Regions from separate parts of the Homo sapiens genome. Here all the other regions are linked to region 4. The links are contacts of gene promoters, found by promoter capture Hi-C in blood cells and fetal thymus (Javierre and others, 2016). All regions are on one chromosome and are shown on one strand. Each heading gives the region's core, a stretch centred on a gene start or on the middle of the fragment in contact. The rest is flanking DNA. Distances are from core to core; before and after follow the strand shown.

Region 1 (5,227 bases), core at 1,560-4,059, 290 kb before region 4:
AGATTAAGTGACTTAACTGATGAATTCCTCTTCCAGGAATGCTGTTCCTGATTCTTGAAGATGCAGCCCAAGTCCCGTCTCCTCTAGAGGCCCTCTGGGATTTCCTCCACCCTCACTGCTCTGTCCTCTGAATTCCTTTAGCCTTTTCTCTCAGTTGCTTCTGGAGCACTTCACCCATGCGACCCTGTTGTGTTGAAAGCCAGGGCCATGCCTTATCCAGGGGGTCCTCAGGAAGCAACCTGAGTAAGGAAATCCCACCAGAGCTAAAGGACAGCCGCAAGGCTAGCCAAGCAGGTTTCCTTCCTTCCCAGAGCCTCCACTGTGAAGTGGGAGGTTTGGACTAGAAGAACAATAAATTCTCTTTTAACAGACCCCAAGCCCTTGCTGCCCCTTGATAGCACCTAAAAGCTATGCAGAAGGGAGGCCTAAATGTCCCTTACACACAGGAGGGAGGTCCATAGGTTCCTTACAACTGGAAAGCTCCATGAAGCAGGCAGCCCTTCCCTGGGGATCAGGGAGGCCTCCACCAGGGCAACCCCTCCCTCATTTGAGACTCTCAGTGATGCATATGAAACTTGGAAATTTCCCTCCTGCTTTTGGGAGTTGGAAGTATCTGAGGAAGTGATGGGGAGAGAGCTCTGTCCTGTGCCCCCGGAGGGAGGACTGGGGAGGATTAAGGACTATTTGCCAAATGTGCTTGGGGATGAAGGAAAGGGTTCCTTGGATCCCCCAACCTATCTGCCTTTGGGTGGAAAGGCCACCCACCTGGAAGGGGCTTCTGAGCTCATGCCTTCCCTGGCAACCCCTGCCTCAAGGTGCAAGGCCCCAGAACCACCTTCCGTGATCCAGAGCCAGGGCTACTCTTTCCTCCCACCCAGAAAGCTTATTTTAGCAACAAAGGGAGCGAGATGAATGGAGAGTTGCAGCTTCTCCACGGGTTGGCTTGGGCCTTCACCAGAAATGAGAGTCTCATTACCCAACCCCAATTCAAAGGATAATTAACAGATGGTATAATTTCCAAGCATTCTCTGCACCACATGGCTATTAGGTGAAGAACAAAATGCCCACGCAGCCCCTAGATCCTTCCAAACTCCAGAGTCTGAGGAAGTCTAGAGAGGCAGAGCCCTGCGGAGGCGTGTAACCCACGCCTCCATCTCCAGAGCTGCCCTTGGCCTTGCTCAGAGGAAGAAAGCTCCTGTTTGGTCAAAGGGGAGGGCATTTCCTTGAGCCATGGGTCCTCCTCCTACTTCTATCCATCCTGCCAGGAGCACAGTCTAACCCTAATCTTTCTTGCTGTACCCAAGGCCCATCTCCTTTCCTGTTTCCCCAGGGGAAAAGAGAAAAGCTGATTTCTCATCCTTGGCCTCACTGTGTGGTCACACAGACACTCCTTGGGCCTGGGGCTGGGGGATCCTCTGCTGTGACCCAGTGAGAGTGGCACCACTGTGACCGGGGGCAGTGGTAGAAGGGAGCACCTGATCCAGTGCTTTTCAGATGGGTTCCTCCAGACCCTCAAGTTGCACAGAGCAGCCCAGGGATTTCTTGGTTGGGGGAGTGGTGGAGAGGGGCAAGGCCCTGACCCCCTCACTTCAACCCAGCAGCACTACTCATCTGTTCTATATTCTGGCCTTCCACTTCAGATTTCTTTTGAAGAAAAGAATTCTACTGCTAAATAAACATTTGAGAACCATTCACCTTATTCAATCCCCTCATTTTACAAAAAGGGACATTGAGGCACAGAATTTGAGCAAGGTCACATAGCTGTGGTGTTGGAGGCTGGGACCCAGGCCCAGGCATCCCCCCAGGCCAGGGCATCCCCCCAGGGACTACCTGACTGGGCCCCTGGCTGCTCCAGGATGTAGGGAAGCCTTTTCTGGGTCGCCTGCACGGCTCCTGCCTGGCTCTCCGTGTGGTCCAGCTTCATGTCTGGTCCTCTTGGAGAACCCCTGGAATCCTGCACACCCTCTCAAATGAAGCTGCCTTGGAGAGGGTCAGGAGCCCGGGTACCAGGTAGGCCTCCTCGCTGGTCACAAAACTGTGGCGGAAGGAGGGGGTAGCCGCAGGACATGGACAGGGAGGCAGGAGGGGATGAGAGGCCGCCTCTCTAGACAGGACCTCAGGGGGCAGTGTAAGCCCCTTGTCTAGAATCCAGGAAGCCTGTGTTAAAGCTAGGCTCCACCGCAGCCGGCCTCCGAATCTGGTGACAGTGTGTTTGCACCACCTGGCTTCCACCCACTCTGACCCTTCTAATTTACTTCCCTGGAAAAGCCCAAGTGGTGTCCAACATGAGGCTGGGGTCATTCTTCCAACAGCCCGACCCCAAGGGGCATGCTGGTCAGACAACAGCCTCGCTGGTGGGGTGGAGGGGACGGTAGGGAGCGAGTGGGCCCGGTGACTCATTGTGGGTGCTTCTCTGGGATTTTGGAGGCTTTGTTGTGTTGCTCAGGGCCCTTTTAACTCTGTCTGACCTATGGGAGGGGACAGCAACGAGGGCTTTTATGACTGGAATGAACTGGAAACTTGGCCTCTGAGAGCCCTTAAAATGTTTTGGAAACCTCTAGGCATACTTAGGGTACTTCCACCATGATTATCATCGGCTGTGTGGCTTCCGATCGCTAATTCGCACCGGGCATCTGGCGAGGCCGGCCTGGGGAAATTGGGATGGAGGGTCCTGCTGGAGGGAATCCTGGCGCTTTGGGCGGAGGAGTGCTCTGGGTGGGGCCCACCTCCTCCAGCGCGGCCGGCGTTGCCGCTTTAAGGCGGCCGCGGCGCGAGCAGGTCTATGGTAATGAGCCGCCGCCGCGACTCTGCAGAGCTCGCCCGCCCGCCGGGGAGGCGAGGGAGCGCGGGGCTGGGCCCGGGGCCGCGGCGACAGGCAGCAGCCGCGGCGGGGACGCGGGGCGCGAGCGGGCGGCGCGGGACCGTCGGGGGCCGCCGGGGCCGGGCCGGGGTCGGGGCGCACGGCTACGCGGGCGCAGGTGGGCGATCCCATAGGGGCGGAGGGGGCACCCCGGCTCCGGAACCCGGGGCCCGGCAAGGCCAGGGGCGCCGCGGGGCCCCCGGGCGCAGGTGGTGAGTGCCCGGAGCGCAGGTGGAGGCGCGGCGGCAGCCCGCGGTGCTCAGGGTGACCCGGGAGCGGGTCTGGCTCAGGGGGCAGTGGGAGCCCGGGCTCGTCGGAGGGTGCAGCGCGGGGTCCCGCCGAGCCATCCAGACGCAGGCCCCGCGGGGCGCACGGGAGGCCCCCGGGGACTGGCGCCCTGGCCCGGGCATGAGGCGCGGCGGGGCCGGCAGGAGCCGGAGGAGGAGCCGCCGCCGCCGTTGACCCGGCCGCCGGCCGGGAGCTGGGAGAGATGCGGAGCCCGGCCACCGGCGTCCCCCTCCCAACGCCGCCGCCGCCGCTGCTGCTGCTGTTGCTGCTGCTGCTGCCGCCGCCACTATTGGGAGACCAAGTGGGGCCCTGTCGTTCCTTGGGGTCCAGGGGACGAGGCTCTTCGGGGGCCTGCGCCCCCATGGGCTGGCTCTGTCCATCCTCAGCGTCGAACCTCTGGCTCTACACCAGCCGCTGCAGGGATGCGGGCACTGAGCTGACTGGCCACCTGGTACCCCACCACGATGGCCTGAGGGTTTGGTGTCCAGAATCCGAGGCCCATATTCCCCTACCACCAGCTCCTGAAGGCTGCCCCTGGAGCTGTCGCCTCCTGGGCATTGGAGGCCACCTTTCCCCACAGGGCAAGCTCACACTGCCCGAGGAGCACCCGTGCTTAAAGGCTCCACGGCTCAGATGCCAGTCCTGCAAGCTGGCACAGGCCCCCGGGCTCAGGGCAGGGGAAAGGTCACCAGAAGAGTCCCTGGGTGGGCGTCGGAAAAGGAATGTAAATACAGCCCCCCAGTTCCAGCCCCCCAGCTACCAGGCCACAGTGCCGGAGAACCAGCCAGCAGGCACCCCTGTTGCATCCCTGAGGGCCATCGACCCGGACGAGGGTGAGGCAGGTCGACTGGAGTACACCATGGATGCCCTCTTTGATAGCCGCTCCAACCAGTTCTTCTCCCTGGACCCAGTCACTGGTGCAGTAACCACAGCCGAGGAGCTGGATCGTGAGACCAAGAGCACCCACGTCTTCAGGGTCACGGCGCAGGACCACGGCATGCCCCGACGAAGTGCCCTGGCTACACTCACCATCTTGGTTACTGACACCAATGACCATGACCCTGTGTTCGAGCAGCAGGAGTACAAGGAGAGCCTCAGGGAGAACCTGGAGGTTGGCTATGAGGTGCTCACTGTCAGGGCCACGGATGGTGATGCCCCTCCCAATGCCAATATTCTGTACCGCCTGCTGGAGGGGTCTGGGGGCAGCCCCTCTGAAGTCTTTGAGATCGACCCTCGCTCTGGGGTGATCCGAACCCGTGGCCCTGTGGATCGGGAAGAGGTGGAATCCTACCAGCTGACGGTAGAGGCAAGTGACCAGGGTCGGGACCCGGGTCCTCGGAGTACCACAGCCGCTGTTTTCCTTTCTGTGGAGGATGACAATGATAATGCCCCCCAGTTTAGTGAGAAGCGCTATGTGGTCCAGGTGAGGGAGGATGTGACTCCAGGGGCCCCAGTACTCCGAGTCACAGCCTCGGATCGAGACAAGGGGAGCAATGCCGTGGTGCACTATAGCATCATGAGTGGCAATGCTCGGGGACAGTTTTATCTGGATGCCCAGACTGGAGCTCTGGATGTGGTGAGCCCTCTTGACTATGAGACGACCAAGGAGTACACCCTACGGGTGCGAGCACAGGATGGTGGCCGTCCCCCACTCTCTAATGTCTCTGGCTTGGTGACAGTACAGGTCCTGGATATCAACGACAATGCCCCCATCTTCGTCAGCACCCCTTTCCAGGCTACTGTCCTGGAGAGTGTCCCCTTAGGCTACCTGGTTCTCCATGTCCAGGCTATCGACGCTGATGCTGGTGACAATGCCCGCCTGGAATACCGCCTTGCTGGGGTGGGACATGACTTCCCCTTCACCATCAACAATGGCACAGGCTGGATCTCTGTGGCTGCTGAACTGGACCGGGAGGAAGTTGATTTCTACAGCTTTGGGGTAGAAGCTCGAGACCATGGCACTCCAGCACTCACTGCCTCGGCCAGTGTCAGCGTGACTGTCCTGGATGTCAACGACAACAATCCAACCTTTACCCAACCAGAGTACACAGTGCGGCTCAATGAGGATGCAGCTGTGGG
Region 2 (5,744 bases), core at 2,297-4,796, 410 kb after region 4:
CAGCTTACTGCGACCTTCACCTCCCTGGTTCAAGCGATTCTCCTGCCTCAGCCTCCAGAGTAGCAGGGATTACAGGCACCCACCACCACACCTGGCTAATTTTTGTATTTTTAGTAGAGACAGGGTTTCACCTTGTTGGCCAGGCTGGTCTCAGACTCCTGAACTCAGGTGATCCATCCGCCTCGGCCTCCCAAAGTGCTGGGATTGCAGGCATGAGCCGCCGCGCTGGCCAACAATGAGTAATTTTCTAAAACAAAAAACAAAAACAAAACAAAAAAACTCCAACAGTATTTTTTAAAGGGAAAAAAAACACGAACAAGTTTCAGCTCCTAACTCTGCCTTGTGTTGAAATAGAACTGATGGAGAAAGGAGCAGCGATTGGAGCCACACAACCTGGGTTCTGCTCTGGACACCTTAATGAGGAGCTGGGATGAGGTGGTGGAAGCAAGATTAAGAAGGGCTTATGGAAAAGTTAAGATTTAGCCCTATGAAGGTGCCAACTTCCCCACCACTGAAATTCCTCATCATCTAGAGGTTCAAGTCACCTACAAAGGACGCAGGTTATCCCTTCACAATCAGGGCCCAATCTATCATTTAACCGTTTAACCTCATCTCCAGCCACTCACATTCACATTCACATCTAGTAAATGTTCTTCCTCCTTGCCCTTCCTTGGGCTCTCGCTCCCCTTCCCCTTCTCACATCTACTTCCTGTCCCACCACAACCTGCTAAAATGTCCTTCCTCTAGAAAGCTGTGTTGATCCTGCTAGCTGAGTTCATCTCTTCGGTCACTCCATCTGAATCTCCAGTATGTCTTTTATGTCTTTCTCATATGCCTTCAAGCTACTTAAGTGAGTGTCTTGTGGTTTTTTTATGTCTTCCTCATATGCCTTCAAGCTACTTAAGTGAGTGTCTTGTTTTTCTTATACCTAATTACAATAACACCTTTTATTTCTATAATGCTTTACAGATTACAAAGCAAGTTGGCATATATTTTATCACTTGGTCCTCACATCTGGTGAAGCAGCTCTTTCTATCGTTTACATAGAAGGACCTAAACCCAAAGAGGTTAAATAACTGGTCCAAAGTCATGATAACCCAGAGCTTTTATGCTAGCTCTCCCCTGCTGGACTGGAAGTTCCTTGAGGGCAAGAACCCTGCCTTAATTATTTTCATATCCCATCAAAACCAACACAGGAGCTGGTTCAGAGCAGATGCTCAGTAAATGAATATGTATGACCCTGGCCAATCCCTTCACCTCTCCACACCTCACAGTGCTAGGTAAAGATGTTCTTTACGTCCTTCCCAGATTCCTTTATGGCAAGAGTCAATAGCACCACTTCTCTGTATTCCCTTCTGACACCTGGATGAGCTGCATATCTGCAGGGCAATTGTCAGGATGTCCATTCCATTCTGTGCCTCTTCTTTCACTAAACACTAATGTATTAGTTTCCTATTGCCGATATAACTAATTGCTGCAAACTTAGTCACTTAAAACAACACAAATTTGGCCGGGTGTGGTGGCTCACACCTGTAGTCCCAGCACTTTGGGAGGTCAAGGTGGGTGAATCACTTGAGGTCAGCAGTTCTAGGCCAGCCTGGCCAACATGGTAAAACCTGGTCTCTACTAAAAATACAAAAATTAGCCGGGCGTGATGGCTCAGACCTGTAATCCCAGCTACTCAGGAGGCTGAGGCAGAAGAATTGCTTGAACCAGGGAGGCAGAGGTTGCCATGATCCAATATGGCACCATTGCACTCCAGCCTGGGCAACAAAGTGAGACCCTGTCTCAAAAACAAACAAAAAACCCCCACAAATTGATTCAATTTATTATCTTAAATATCTGGAGTTCAGAAGTCTGAAATTGGTCTCAGTGGGCCAGAGTCGAGGTGTGGGTCGGGCTGGTTCCTTCCAGACACTCTGAGGGGGAATCTGTTTCTTTGACTTTTTCAGCTTCTAGAGGCCTCCTGCATTCCTTGGTGTGCGCTCCCTTCCTCCGTCTTCAACGCTCATCACACCAATTGCAGCTTCTGCCATCACATTGCCTTCTCTTCTGTGGGGAGATCTCCCCCTGCCTTCCTCTTATAAGGACTCTTCTGATCACCTTTAGGGCCCACCTGGGTAAGATGGCATTCCTAGTTTCCAGACACGAGGACCTGGATCTGTTTGGGAGACATTATTCAGCCTACCGCAATTATTATTACACCAACAATTTACCTATTATTTGTATATTTATCTGTATCTCCAGTACACTGTGAGCAACTTGAAGACTAAGACTGTACCTTATCTACCTCTCTATTCTCGTCTCCTAACATGGCTCCTCAGATACAGTAGGTGCTTAATAAATAATGATTGTGTGAATGAACAATCCCATACTTACAGACTTCTATTGCTTGTGCCTTAGGGAGCATCACAGCACAACATTCCAAAGAAATCTAAAGCTAACTTTTTTTTTAAAGCCTTAAAATAAATGTCAGTCTTTAGCACAATTATCTTGGGACATAGAGGAGAAGATTATACAACACATTGCACAGCAAAGCTTCCGAAAAATGCCCTGAAGACATTTCTTCCCTCCTCCAGACCCCTTCACTTAGTCCCTGCACTTGCCCGCCCATCCACTGCCTCAGCCAGCGAAATCTGTAACTTTTCCCAGGGAAAATGCACAAGCATCAGGATTTAATTTTGACACTACCCACTCTCAACCAATGGGCAGGCAATCAGCAGGAAGAAAAAAAAAAAAGCACTATCTACTTCCTAAATTCTTGGATGTGTTTCTCAATCTGTCTCTCACACAGTGAGGTCTTCAAGGCACCCGTGGTCTAGTGCCCAATGACCCCATGACTCCATTTGGGACCAGTCCTGCCTCACTCGAAGCAATTCAAGGAGAACTGCCTCTAGCCAGGGTCCCAAGGCTGACTGTGAGACGGCCTCTGGTGAGGGGAGAAACCTGCCTGGTAGCCCAACTGAGACCTGAAGGCTTAGGGCATCCAACCTTCCCACGCCAGCCTAGCATCTCCAGTGTAAATAACTTGAAGGCTTTCTTTCTTCCTCCTCCCAGATCCTCACTGTTTTGGGTAGCTCTTGGTTATAAATTCCTGATGCTTCTATCTGATCCAAACTTTCTTATTCTCTGAGCTGTGCTCCCAGGCACTTTGCTGCATGGCAAGATAACCTTAGTACAAAATAATGATAGGAGCTTGCAGTTAATGAGAATCCCAATGTGGGAGCTTTCCCTGTTTTGTTGCACCTAAACCTCACTGCATCCCTAAGAGGAAGGTGCTGTTGTTAAACTGAGCCACAGGCGTGTAAGTGACTTGCCCAAGGTCACACAGCTAATAAATGGTAGAGTCAAAATTCAAAGCCAGGGCTGGGTGTGGTGGCTCACACCTGTAATCCCAGCACTTTGGGAGGCCAAGGCGGGTGGATCACCTGAGGTCAGGAGTTCCAGACCAGTCTGGCCAACGTAGTGAAACCCCTTCTCTACTAAAAATCCAAAAATTAGGTGGGCATGGTGGTGCACACCCGTAATCCCAGCTACGCGGGAAGCTGAGGCAGGGGGAATTGCTTGAATCCAGGAGATGGAGGTTGCAGTGAGCCAAGATCATGCCACTGCACTTGAGCCTGGGTGACAGAGTGAGACTACATCTAAAAAAAAAAAAAAAAAAAAAAAAAAAAAAGAATTCAAACCCAGGCAGTCTGGCATGGCATGCAGGTAGGCAAAACATCTCATCTTCCTGTTTACCTGCATTATGAGTTGGACAAATAAATTGTAGCTCCTCTCCGTCTTGCCATGTTTCCTGTTTAGAACTTTCAGGCATCCCGTGGCATTTACAGAAGGCTCTGGGTTCACACAGGCGAAATTCCCTCACAATGGATCTTTACTCTGGAATTTTCCCGTCCCAAGGCCTGCCACTCCTGCAGCCTTAGAAGGCACTTCCTCCCTGGTCCCATGCTCCCTGCGAAGTTCTCTACTTTCCAGGAGCGTGGCTTACAGCTTCCTCCTTTGGGCACCCAGTTCCTAATGAAACTGAACCTTTCAGTCCTGCCTGCCTGGGCACCCTCCTCTCTTCATCTTACTGCAGGACAAGTGTGTCCATGAGGCCGAGTTAATAGCGTCCATGAAGTGAAATGAAATCGTTACTTCAAGCCTCAAGCCTCACCAGGGAGTTTCTTAGACTTTTCAATCTGGCAGGTTGGCATAACCCTGTGTAAGAGGATTCTTCACCTAGTACAGTAAGTTCTGGGCAGCGCATTGTTCCAAAGATTAGAATTCTGATCTCAGGGGTGACCTCTCTTGGCTTTATTACAGAAAAATCACACTTCAACATCTCAGGTGGTAGCACTGCTGTGTTGACATTCACATTCTTTCATGTTAAAAAAAGTCCCCAGATTTTCATTCTTAATTGTCCAGTGTGTTATTATAAGAAAAGTTGCTTAGAATTTCCTCTATTATTTGGCACCTGAGTCATTTTCAAGTTTCACTTTTTTACACAGTATGAAACAGATTGATTTTTTTTTGTTTGCTTAATTTTTGGTTTATTTACTTCCTTGTAGATAAGCTTCCAAAAACAGAATAAATACTCCAAAAGATATGAGCATTTTTACTGCCTTTGATGCATATCCTTTTATTGTTTAAGAGATTGCACAAGTTCACATTATCACCAGCAACATATAAGTACCTGTTTCCCCACAGTTCTGTTAACATGGGATTTATTACTTTTACTAGCTTTTTGCTAGTCTAATAGTTCTAGAATGATATGTTAAAGTTGTTTAAATGGGCTTCTCTTTATTACTTTCAAGGCTGTATTTTTTTATGTGATAATTGTTCTTCCTTTTTGGGGGGAATAAACTGTTCCTCTCCTTTGACAATTTACAGAGTAGAATCCAGACACAAGCCAGTATTTTCTCCATCTATTGTTTTCTACTTGGGGATAAGCTTTTAATATTTGTCACATCTTTTATTTCTATAGCATAGTCTTGTATGTAGCTGCTGTAAAGTTCAGAGTAATCTTTATATATTTGGCCAGGTGTGGTGGCTCACGCCTGTAATCCCAGCAGTTTGGGAGGGTGAGGCGGGCAGATCATTTGAGGTCAGTAGTTCGAGACCAGGCTGGCCAACATGGTGAAACCCCATCTCTTCAAAAAAATATGAAAGTTAGCTGGGCGTGGTGGTATGTACCTTTAGTCCCAGCTACTTCTGGGGCTGAGGCAGGAGGATCGCTTGAACCCAGGAGGTCAAGCCTGCAGTGAACGAAGATTGTGCCACTACACTCCAGCCTGAGGGACAAAGTGAGACCCTGTCTAAATAACAATAATAATAATAATAATATATGTTTATATTTCTCTACCTTGTCCTTAATAAATTTTTTTCATTTCTTCAATAGTCAGACATTTACGACCCCTTCAAACATGAGATAACCATGTTATTTTTCCCATTTAAAAAAATACTAAGCTGGGTGCGTTGGCTCACGCCTGTAACCCCAGCACTTTGGGAGGCCGAGGCTGGCAGATCGCTTGAGGTAGGGAGTTCAACACCAGCCTGGCCAACATGGTGAAACCCCCTCTCTACTAAAAATACAAAAATTAGCAGGGTGTGGTGGTACATGTCTGTAATCCCAGCTACTTGGGAGGCTGAGGCAGGAGAATCACTTGAACCCAGGAGTGAGAGGTTGCAGTGAGCCGAGATCACGCCACTGCACTCCAGCCTGGGTGACAGAGTGAGACTCCGTCTTAAACAAACAAACA
Region 3 (5,803 bases), core at 1-2,500, 260 kb before region 4:
GGCCTCATCGAGGATCTCCTCCAGCTTCTCTGGACTGAGGGGGCCTAGGCTGAGCCTCACACCCTGGGGGGCAGGTGCCACTGCATTTGGGTCACTTCGGTGGGAGAGGCCCCGTCGAAGTGGTTTCTCTGGAGTCACCAACACTGTTATGTCTTCCTCCTCACGGCTGAGACAGGAAACAAACCAGGCATCATGCCCATGCAAAAGGGAACAGGAGATTATGCAAGGGAGACTGCATAAAAGCCCCACAACAGAGCCAGGGACATGACCCTAGGCCCCGATGCCCATGCTGGCTGTGAGATGTGGCCTCTGGGCGATGAGATACCTGGTTCTATGGGGCCTAATAGGCCTTTAGCATTTACGGACATCAGAAATGATGCCAGGATGGAGATGCAGCAAATCCACTTATCCTTCTTCTTAACACCCTGAAATCTAACTCCAGCTTCTCCCTTCTCTCCCCGCTACCAATAGTGTCATAGAGGCCCGAGTCAGCCAGCCGCCCAGCAGCCCCAAGTGCGCCAAACCTTGCTAAGTTACCAACCCAAGCCAATAATTCAGCAGTAAGGGATTCGAGACAAAGAGGTACTGTTAGAGGAAAATAAGTGGGATAAAGAGGCTGGTACCTGTCAGATGGTGACAGCCCCCCAAAGTCCAAGGTCTCATCCACAATAAACCTTACATCTGAAGGGGAAAGAAGAATGAAAGCCAGTCATGGGTCCCTGATGCAGCTCTCCATCGCTGGGTCTCACTCCTCCCTTTCATTCTTCCCTCCCTCCTTTCCTTACCTTCCTCCAAATCCTCCATGTCCAGCCAGCAGGAGCGAGAGTCCAGTTAGATCTGAGCTGGAGAGAAACCATACCTTTCCTCAGGTATCCATTCTGCCCAAGGCTCGCAGCTAGATTCAGGGTGCAAGCCAGGGTCGGGGGTCATGCTGGAGGCAAAGCAAGCGCCCAGGAGTGGCACCTCCCGCACAGCTACTCCTGCTACCTCCGGGAACGATACGGAGGGCTCCCCCAACTGCCCAGATTGCCCTGGAGCCGCCCTGCATCCTGGCCTCTCCTCACTGGGGGCGGCCTGCACGCCCCATCTTCCTCCCCGCCACTATCCTCAGGGTTCTGCACTCCCCAAGCCACCTTTCCACTCCCCTGGCATCACACGCGAAGCACACCTCCAGCCCACCCTGTGTCCACTTCCCGCGCCGCCTTATCTTCCACGCAACAGGCTTTCTCCCGCAACCTAGTCCCGGGAATCAGCTCCGAGGGGGCGGGGCTCCTTTCGAATCTCTCAGGCCCCACCTACTCAAGCCACACGCGCACCGTGATTGGTGAATCCTCAGGGGGAGGGGCTGAGGAGCTGCCGGCCGGAAGTCAGCCGGTGGGGGCTGGGGGAGAACCGTTCCCAGAAGACTGCATCCCGGTGGCGGAGCCGAGGGTTGAGGCTGCGAGTGCGCGTGCTCGCGTGCGCGGAGACTCTCTTTCCCGTAGGCAGATGGGAGCAGAGCGCGGCTGGCCAGGAGGGAAGAAACGGACCCACGAGTATGGAACTCGCGCCCCGCCCCGCTCCCTCTGCTGGGCCGCCGAGCACCCAGTCTCCAGAACGGTTGTGCTGCCTAACGTGGCCGCTAACCGACGCTCTACGGGAGGAAATTCGTTTTCTTGGGCGCACTCAATATGCAGGCGCCGCATTGGCCGAGGTTCCTCAGTTGTGGGTTTTTTCCAAGTTAAGGGAGCACCTAAACACTTATATTGTAGGTATATTGAGGTTCTCTTAGAAGTACATCCTCCATCGCCTCTTCAAGAACCTGAGGCAGCTGAGGTGCAAAGAAAGCAACGGGCTTTTCACGCAGGCAGGCTTAGGTTCAAATGCAACCCAAGTTTAACTGACCTCAGAACCCAAGTTTCGGTTTAGAGGCGGCTGCCTTGAGTATATTTGCCCTCTTTTCACCTCTCTTCGCTTATCTGTGAAAGGAGGATGTTGGTCCTCGCAGTTACGGTGTTACGAGGATAATTATGAAGGCGTTTTCTACCGTGTGCCCTTAGGGGATTTAGAGGGGGTGTTTGTAAGTAGCCCCCTCTGAACTAAAAGCAGTATTTGTAAAATGCTTAAACCAACTTGTTAGGAGTGTTGTCTCTGTTGTTTCTAAATGTTGCCCGGGCCACCAGTGAACTTGTCAGAGGCTTCAAACCAGAACGACTCCATCTGGAATAGAGGCTGGGTAAAATAAGGTTGAGACCTGGGCTGTATTCCTAGGAGGTTAGGCATTCTAAGTCACAGGATGAGATAGGAGGTTGGCACAAGATACAGGTCACAAAGACCCTGGTGGTAAAACAGCATGCGGTAAAGAAGCCAGCCAAAACCTACCGAAACCAAGATGGCGATGAAACTGACCTCTGGAGGTCCTCAGTCCTCATTATACGCTAATTATAATGTATTAGCATGCTAAAAGACACTCCAGACAGCATCACCACGGTTTACAAATACCATGGCAACATCAGGAAATTACCCTACATGGTCTAAAAAGGGGAGGAATTCTTAGTTCCAGGGAGTTGCCTACCCCTTTCCCGGAAAACTCATGAATAATTCATCCCTTGTTTAGCATATAATCAAGAAATAACCATAAAAATGGCCAACCAGCAGCCCTCCGGGCTGCTCTGCCTCTGGAGTAGGCATTCTTTATCCCTTTTCTTTCTTAATAAACTTGCTTTCACTTTATGGACTTGCCCTGAATTATTTCCTATGCAAGGGCCAAGAACCCTCTCTTGGGGTCTGGATCCGGACCCCTTTCTGGTAACAACAGGAGGAGACAGCAGGTCCGCACAAGATACAGATCTCAAACATCCCTCTAATAAAACGGTGCAGTAAAGAAGCCGGCCAAATCTGCCAGAAACCAAGATGGTAAAGAAAGTAGGCCAGGCGCGGTGGCTCACGCCTGTAGTCCCAGCACTTTGGGAGGCCGAGGCGGGCGAATCACGAGGTCAGGAGATCCAGACCATCCTGGCTAACACGGTGAAACCCCGTCTGTACTAAAAATACAAAAAATTAGCCGGGCGTGGTGGCGGGCCCCTGTAGCCCCAACTACTCGGGAGGCTGAGGCAGGAGAATGGCGTGAACTTGGGAGGCAGAGCTTGCAGTGAGCCGAGATCGCACCTCCGCACTCCAGCCTGGGCGACAGAGTGAGACTCCGTCTCAAAAAAAAAAAAAAAGAAAGTGACAGCTGGTCATCCTCACTGCTTATTATATGCTAGTTGTAATTCATTAGCATGCTAAAAGACACTCCTGCCAGCGTCCTGACAGTTTACAAATGCTATGGCAACGTCTATATGGTATAAAAGGGAGAGGAGCCTTCAGTTCCAGGAAATCATGCTCCTTTCCCAGAAAACCTATGAATAATCCACCCCTTGTTTAGCATATAATCAAGAAATAACCATAAAAATAGCTTACCAGCAGCCCTTGGGGCTGCTCTATGGAGTAGCCATTCTTTTATTCCTTTACTTTCTTAATAAATTCACTTTCACTTTACTCTGTGGACCCGTCCTGAATTCTTTCTTTTGAAAGATCAAAGAATCCTCACTTGGGGTCTGGATGGATCAAGACCCCTTTCCAGTAATAAACTGAGCTCCTAGAAAGGTTCTGAATATTTAAAGTGAAAAAGCCCTAAGGGAATGGTTGAGGAGCTTTCTGGTAAACAGAACCTGAGCTTTAGTCCTCAGAGTTCATGCCCATTTTTTTGGCCATTTATAGGCTTTCTTGTTTACTTTCTAGTTTTTGGCTGTGACGTTGAGGTGGTGAGGTCTGCAGGAGTGAGATGTCACTGTAATAAATGCCACCAGAGACCAAGAAGCTGGAAACCAAAAATAAAATTCTAAGCCCCCCAACCAACTGAATGGACCCCTTCTCTCTGACAAGGGCATTCCAGATTTAACCTGGAAAACTAGTTCAGGCCATAATGGAAAGTGGGGGTTGGACATGCCTCATTATACTCTCTGCCCTTTGGGAATCAGGCACAGCTGACCAACATTAACATTAAAACAGAGATCTGGCCAGGGGGCGGTGGCTCACGCCTGTAATCCCAGCCCTTTGGGAGGCCGAGGCAGGCAGATCATCTGAGGTCGGGAGTTCAAGACCAGCCTGGCCAACGTGGTGAAACACCATCTCTACTAAAAGTACAAAAAAATTAGCCGGGCATGGTGGTAGGCACCTGTAATCCCAGCTACTTGGGAGACTGAGGCAGGAGAATCGCTTGAACCCAGGAGGCGGGGGTCGCAGTGAGCTATCACGCCACTGCACTCCAGTCTGGGTGACAGAACGAGACACTGTCTCAAAAACAAAAAAAACAAACAACAACAATAACAACAACAAAACCACAAAGATCTTAAGGCTAAGGAAACAGACTTTTTTTTTTTTTTTTTTTTTTGAGATGGAGTCTCACTTTGTTGCCCAGGCTGGAGTGCGGTGGTGCAATCTCAGCTCATTGCAACCTCTGCCTCCTGAGTTCAAGCGATTCTCCCGTCTCAGCCTCCCGAGTAGCTGGAATTACAGGCACACGCCACCAAGCCCAGCTAATTTTTGTATTTTTAGTAGAGATGGTGTTTCGCCATGGCCGTGAACTGCCTCAGGTGATCCGCCCACCTTGGCCTCCCAAAGTGCTGGGATTACAGGGATGAACCACCACGCTTGGCCAGAAACAGACTTTTTGTAGCAATAATATTACTGGAAAGGGGTCCCAATCCAGACCCCAAGTGAGGGTTCTTGGATCTCACACGAGAAAGAATTCAAGGCGAGTCCATAAAGTGAAAGCAAGTTGATTAAGAAAGTAAAGGAATAAAGAATGGCTACTCCATAGGCAGAGCAGCCCGAGGGCTGGTGGTTGCCCATTTTTATGATTATTTCTTGATGATATGCTAAACAAGGGGTGGATTATTCATGCCTCCTTTTTTTAGACCATATAGGGTAACTTCTGGATGTTGCCATGGCATTTGTAAACTGTCATGGTGCTAGTGGGAGTGTAGCAGTGAGGTCACTCTCATCATCGTCTTGGTTTTGGTGGGTTTTAGCCGGCTTCTTTACTGCAACTTGTTTCATCAGCAAGGTCTTTATGACCTGTATCTTGTGCTGACCTCCTTAGGATCTCATCTTGTTACTTAGAATTCCTGTCTGGGAATGCAGCCCAGTAGGTCTCAGCCTTATTTAACCAGCCCCTATTCAAGATGGAATTGCTCTGGTCGAAACGCCTCTGACAATAAGACGCCAAATTCCAGCCTGATTCTAGTATAGTATCACATGACAGACAGTAGGCCCTGAAAGAAATTAAAGTATTTTACCTCAAAATATATTTTTCTTTTCTTTTTCTTTTTTTAGAAGCAAATGAAGGACAAAGTTTACTGTTCTTTTTTTTTTTTTCCTTTTGTTGTTGTTGTTGTTGAGACGGAGTCTCACTCTGTTGCCTAGGCTGGAGTCCAGTGGCACGATCTTGGCTCACTGCAAGCTCCACTTCCCGGGTTCACGCCATTCTCCTGCCTCAAGTGGCTGGGACTACAGGCACCTGCCATCATGTCTGGCTAATTTTTTGTATTTTTAGTGGAGACGGGGTTTCACCGTGTTAGCCAGGATCGTCTCGATCTCCTGACCTCGTGATCCGCCCGCCTCGGCTTCCCAAAGTGCTGGGATTACAGGCGTGAGCCACCGCACCCGGCCCACAAAATTTATTTTAAAAGATGCTGCAAATTCACTCATCTGCTTCAAATAACTCCTGTCCTTTGGGATCCAGTTATGGGCAATGTACACGAGACTTTACCAGTGCAAT
Region 4 (5,777 bases), core at 1,953-4,452:
TGAGCAGGCAAGGGGCTCTAGGGAGGGGGCAGTGGCAACATAAGAAGTCTTCAATGTTTATTGAAGAAGTGGATGGATGAATGAAAGATAAACTTGATTGGCTTCCAGGTCTCATCCTGGGGCAGAAAAGGGTGGATGGGCAGACACGACCCTGTCACGAGGTGCTGGTGCACAAGGGTTGGGTAAAACTGTACCAGGGAGCAAGTCTAGGATGCAAAGATCAGTCCTCAGCAGCAAGGGCCCTGCCATGATACCAAGGGAAGGGGTGCCACTGTTGGAAACAGGGCCTGGTCCCCGTCCTGTAACAGGATTCCCTTCCTGGGTGTGTGCACAGCATAGTGAGCCATGGATCTCTTATGTGGTTTGGGGGATCACACTCAGTTTCTCCATCTTGGTCTTCTTGCCCCCTCCATTGTGCTAAGCTTTACTAAAAGGAGGGACTGGCAGGTGGGGTTGGGGGTGTGCTGTCAGTAGCTACTCCACACCCTGACTGAGATCATTTAATAAGATACAGCATAAGAAGTGCCTCCCAAAGTGGGCCTTCAAGAACTAGTAGCATTATTATTATTATTATTTATTATTATTATTTTTTGAGACAGAGTCTCACTCTTATTGCCCAGGCTGGAGTGCAATGGTGCGATCTCAGATCACTGCAACCTCCACCTCCTGGGTTCAAGCGATTCTCCTGCCTCAGCCTCCTGAGTAGCTGGGATTACAGGCATGTGTCACCATGCCTAGCTAATTTTTGTATTTTTAGTAGAGACGGGGTTTCGCCATGTTGGCCAGGCTGGTCTTGAACTCCTGATCTCAAATCATCTGCCCGCCTCAGCCTCCCAAAGTGCTGGAATTACAGGCGTGAGCCACTGTGCCCAGCCAGCATGATTATTATTATTATTTATTATTTGCCCACAGGCTAGAATAAGCAGTTCCCCCGCCGACCTCCTGAGCCAAGATGGTTCCAACAGCTGGAACATGCTGCCTCTTTGGTACTGCCTTTCCCAATAGCTCTCTGGGAGGGGCTTCAGGACACGGACGCCTTGCCTGCTGGCCACCACATGAGCTGTGATTACCTGTGCTAGCTCCCTGAAGCTGGAGAGGCAGGCTATGTTTGTTTTGCAGGCTCCCTACCACTATTAGATAAGCTTGGAAGTGAAGAATTTTGCCCATTTTCACAGACAGCCAACTCACAGGCCAAGGTCTTACCACCAACCAATAGAATGGCGCCAAACTGGAACCAAGGTTTTCTGACTCCAGTCTAGCGCTCTTTCTAAAATCCTGTTCCAGTGGGCCCAGGTCTGCTCCAGTTCTTATTGAATCCCTCGGAAGGGGCCATGCCAGTCTGGGCTGGGGCCCTGCAGGAAGAATGTGGGTGCTGAGCAGGGACAGGCTTTACCTAATCCCAGACAATCTGCTTGATGCCAAATTAATCTTGCCAACACAACAGCACAGGGCTTCCTAAAAATCACTTTGCTGTCTACAGGTTTTCAATTTGGTATTTCCATTTGAATTTCTTGTACGCAGGTATGCCTAATTTTGAGGTCTGTTTTAGGCTTTCTGGAAGGCAGTGACTACTTCTATGAAGATAGCTTTTAGGGCTGTAGTCCACAGTCTTGTGTCAGGCCACTGGAGAGGCCACGGAACGAAGGGAGAAGGAGGAGGAAATACTTGGACTTCAAACAGATCTGGGTTCAAATATCAGCTCTTGCACTTATTAGCTGTGTGATTTGGGGAAAGTCACTTCTCCTCCAGCACCCGGTTCCTCACTTATAAAATAGGGCAAGTCATGGCTGCCTCATAGATTGGTGTGGGGATCAAAGAAACTGTATGTAAAGGGCCTGGCACTCATAACAGCTCAAAAAGTGGTGGCTGGTGACAGCGGCACTTGCTGCATCGGCTCTTGGTTTGTCAGTGGCCTCTTTGTTTTTGACCTGGGGCTTGGGGCAGCCAACTTGTCCCAGTGAGGTCCTTGGGTAACTCATTGTTCTTATGGCTCTTTGGGTTGGGTCTGGTAAACAATTCCAGAATTCCCTTTTTCCTTCTTAGAGGCAGAAGGAGTCCCTAGATAGGCAAGTCTCAGGGAAGCAGGCTCTGGAGTAGGGGATCATGCCTGAATTCCCTGTTTAGACTCATGGCTCTGCCATGTGGAGCTATGTGGCTTTGAGCAATCTCTTTATCTCTCTGGGTCTCAGAAACATGGATACCTTGGCCTGTAGGATGTCCTACAGCTTTGCAATGTTAGGATTCTATCCTTGGGTATCAGTCATGTACCCGGGTAAATGATCATTTTCTTCATAGCTAGAGGGAGGCCATGCCCCTTCATTGCGTCTCTGAAGGCCCATCATGCCACAGATGGGCGATGCTCAGTGGCTGATGCTACCTAGCTCTGTCCAGTCCCACAAATCCAGATCAGTGTGAGCATTCCTGAGTCCCTGGCCCCCACTCTGTCTCCTTCAGGAAGCAGTGTTGTGGTGGTTCCCATGGTGGCTCGGGGGGATGTTAGATCCTCCCGCCCCCTCCCTGCCAATCTCCATCAGCCCTCACAGCCCCAGTTCCAATAAACATACAATCTAAGCAAATAATAATAATGTGCTTTTGGGAGGCAAGGGCAGGGTTAAGACAAAGCCTTCAGCTGCCCTTCAAACCTGAGTGCTGCTCCTAAACCTGTCCCCCATACGCATTAGGCAGCTTCCAAAGGGGCCAAACCTTGGACCATCCCCTGGAGCCTCAGCCGCCTCCCTGGCCTAAGCCTTGGGGCCCTGGGTCTGCGCTGACCTGCCTGCATCAGCACCTTGGTTCTGATGTCACACAGAACCATGCATCTCTCCTATCTTCTCTTTGAACTGCTAAGAAATCAAGGCCAAAATGCAACTTGCCCAAGGTCACACGGCTAGTAAGTGCCATAGCCAGGCCTTAAACCTGGATTTTCTGACTCCATGTACTTTTTTTTTTACTTCATCAGGCTGGTCAAGAGGGTCTCCCCTACCTATCATTTCCTGGCCCCACGAAATTTTTGAGACGCAATCCAGCAGCCTGAGAGAAGTGAGAGGAGTTGAGCTCACTGCCAGGCACCTTGCCTGGGGCATTGGTGCCCACCTTTTTGCTCCAGAAGTGACTCTGAGGGGCTGGGTGGGAAGCAGGAGGCCATTAGGACCCAGAGGCTCTCGGAGCACTCTGCTTTGCCGGCTGCCTCTCACCGCTCACTGCAGTGCTTCAGGCTTCAGCAGCCTTGGAGAAGCATCAGCTGAGAGGAGCTATCACATGGGAGCCGGGACTGCTCAGCAAAGGTAGGAGTTGCCGACTAGGCCAGGAATGGGGGCCAGACCCAGAGCCTGGTGGTGAGTGCCAAGGTATCCCCACAGAAGGGTGGCTTTCCAAGGACCAGCCCTGCCTACATTCCGGTGAGCAGTTTGATCAGGAGATGGGCTCTCAGGTATCCCAAAGGCGGTATTGGGGTGTGGGCATCTCTGAAGCCCAGAGCTGGGGGGTTGATCATCTCCTGCCGGCAGGAGTACCCACATCCTGCAGACAAACAGCATTCTCCATCTGTCTTGCTCCATGTCATGGACATGGGTCTCCCACATTCTAGGAATGGGCCCTTCAGCATACAGGCTGATGGGCAACTGTGTCCTGGGCGTGGGCAACTCTGCTGAGGAGAGGTGTTGTAGCTCCCTGGAAATCTTCCCTAGCTTAGGAGGGGCACGCTCTTGTCTGAAGGAAGGCCAGGCTCAGGTCTTTGGGATGGAAGCTCTGGATCTGGAAAACAGGTGCATGTGAATCCCAATACCTCTGTGGCCTTGGGCTGGGCACTTATGCACATCTTGCATCCTGTAACTTGACCATGCCCCTGCTAGAGGCCCAGACCTCAGGCCCTAGTGGCAAAGCCTTCTAGGTACTGAAGGTCCTGGAGGTAAGAGGGGTGCTGTTGGAAGTAAGTAGTGGGGGAAGGAAAGCATCTGTTGGGGGAGTAGGCATAATGATATGACCTGGGAGAGGAGTGAGGCTCCCTGGGTTTCACCTATGAAACTGTTACACCACAGCCCTCCCCTCCATAACCCCAGTCCATTAGTGAGGGAGTGCCCATTAGCCAGATACACTGATCTGTCTGTTAAGAGGTAAATTGGAATCCTGGCATTTAGGAGTCACTGTGGAGACACTGGCAAGCTTGAGGGAGCTATGAAAAAGAGCAATGTCCAATGCCTTCTTGCTCAGGGCTCCATCATGGCTTCGTGGCATCCCTCCAGCTCCACGTGGAAACCAGGTCTGCTTCCCTCCGTCTGGGACTCTTGATGTCCATCCAGACATGGTGGGCCTCTCCTCCTTCAGCCACCAGGGAGGGACTCTGAACCACATCCTCTGGGCCTCACTCACAGACAGAAGGGATAGGTAAATCAGAGCATGGAGAGTAAGAAGGAAGGATGCTTCTCCTAGCATTTCTTTCAGGCATTTTTCCTGGTAGACTCTAATGAGAAGCTGATGTCTCACTTTTGTGCCCGCTCTTCAACTTCTCTGCAGACTCTAAGTCTCTGTGGGCATCTTAACTGTGAAATGAGCTTTCTGTGTCCCTAGAGAGAGGCACGTCTCTAGGCAGTTGCCCAAAGTTAGGGCTTCCTCAAGTCCAGGAACCCCGGCTACCCTTTCCACAAGAGAGTCCCTTGGCTGGCACACAGCTGGCTGACTGAGTGTTCTTGGAGTTTGTCCTAGGGGGCAGGGATTCAACTACCAATTTGAGTTTGATTCAATTCACAAAATTGTATTCAGCACCTATTGCATGCATAGCATGTTAGAAGTTGGATTGGTGTAAGGTTTATGGAAACACCAAAAACCAAAGGTGACTGTAAGGCTATAACTGTGGAGGAGAGTGGGGCCCATCTTGCCATGTGATCCTCTTTATTGCAGCCATAGAAATGATGGGTTTTTAAACTGAGCAACCTCAGTGTCTCCTCCCTACTTCTTGTTCTGTGACTGTAGTAAGTCTAGAACCAATGCGGCTCTTGGTCAGGGATCCTCCAAGGGTCAGCTCCAGAGATCAGAGATTTGGGGATCTGGGGAGCAGGAGGTTGGCAGCAGCTCCTTTCCCACAAGAGGGGCACAGTGGCCTTGAAGAGTTCATGAGTGGGTGGAGAAGGGCAGCTTGAAGCAACTTCCGGCTTTGGGAGCAGTGGAGGCTGGATGAGCTGGCCTCCCAGTTTCCTTCCAGACGGGACATTTTGTTTTCACTGCTCCTACTCAACATTCCCAAAGTGGCAGCTCTTTGTGCTGGGAGTAGTGATGTCAAAAGAGCCTAAAGCACAGCTCCCCTTTTCAGATGATAACCCTAGGGCAGCAAGAGACAGTTTTAGAGACAGCTGAAATTCAACAACTATTTACTGGATGCCTATTATAGTCCAGCCGGCACGGAGGGCACCTTCACATATGGCATGGCACAGTGGGCAAGAGTACTGGACCTGGGGCCAGACTGCCCAGGTAGGTGCCCAGCCCTTGCCGCTTACTAGCTGTGCGACCTTGGGTAAGTTACTTAACCTTTCTAGACCTCAGCTTCATCTCTTGCAAAATGGAGATAAAAATATTATCTACTTCATAGGGTTGTGTGAGGAATAAAATGAGTTAATATAGGTAGAGTGCTGAGAACAGGGTCTGGCATGTGGAAAACGCCGTATCAATGCTACTGCTTGTCATTAGTATTATTATTAACAAATCACGCAGGATCCAGAAACACAGTTGTGAAGCAAGTGTTCTTCCTTTCATTTTACAGATGGATTTATGAGGAAACTGAAATT

What was found. The method cuts DNA at HindIII sites, captures the fragments that hold promoters and counts their contacts. A CHiCAGO score of 5 or more calls a contact.
Region 1: a contact is called between the fragment with the promoter of CELSR2 here and the fragment with the promoter of GPR61 in region 4, in 12 of 17 cell types (naive CD4 T cells, erythroblasts, total CD8 T cells and 9 more). The highest score is 9.7, in naive CD4 T cells.
Region 2: a fragment that was not itself captured here is called in contact with the fragment with the promoter of GPR61 in region 4 in 3 of 17 cell types (M2 macrophages, M0 macrophages and erythroblasts); the score reaches 5.8 in M2 macrophages.
Region 3: the fragment with the promoter of PSRC1 here is called in contact with the fragment with the promoter of GPR61 in region 4 in 8 of 17 cell types (activated CD4 T cells, naive CD4 T cells, total CD8 T cells and 5 more); the score reaches 11.3 in activated CD4 T cells.

Annotation. Positions count from the first base shown.
Region 1 is chr1:109,246,730-109,251,956 of GRCh38, forward strand. It overlaps CELSR2 (cadherin EGF LAG seven-pass G-type receptor 2), which reads left to right and starts at 2,810. Exons shown (of 34, transcript NM_001408.3): 1 at 2,810-5,227. The coding sequence starts at 3,351. RefSeq lists an enhancer at 2,127-2,847 and silencers at 2,849-2,908, 3,069-3,168, 4,267-4,457. The HindIII fragment of the contact is 8,037 bases long and covers 881-5,227 here.
Region 2 is chr1:109,943,905-109,949,648 of GRCh38, forward strand. No RefSeq gene overlaps it. Among named protein-coding and RNA genes, the nearest start is that of CSF1, 36 kb to the left of the region's middle. The HindIII fragment of the contact is 2,020 bases long and covers 2,537-4,556 here.
Region 3 is chr1:109,281,895-109,287,697 of GRCh38, forward strand. PSRC1 (proline and serine rich coiled-coil 1) reads right to left here and starts at 1,251. Exons shown (of 8, transcript NM_001032291.3): 1 at 1,169-1,251; 2 at 786-842; 3 at 624-681; 4 at 1-166. The coding sequence starts at 804. RefSeq lists enhancers at 1,620-2,345, 1,713-1,762. The HindIII fragment of the contact is 13,254 bases long and covers 1-5,803 here.
Region 4 is chr1:109,536,670-109,542,446 of GRCh38, forward strand. GPR61 (G protein-coupled receptor 61) reads left to right here and starts at 3,203. Exons shown (of 2, transcript NM_001393907.1): 1 at 3,203-3,284; 2 at 5,753-5,777. RefSeq lists enhancers at 2,716-3,217, 3,218-3,717. The HindIII fragment of the contact is 3,019 bases long and covers 1,141-4,159 here.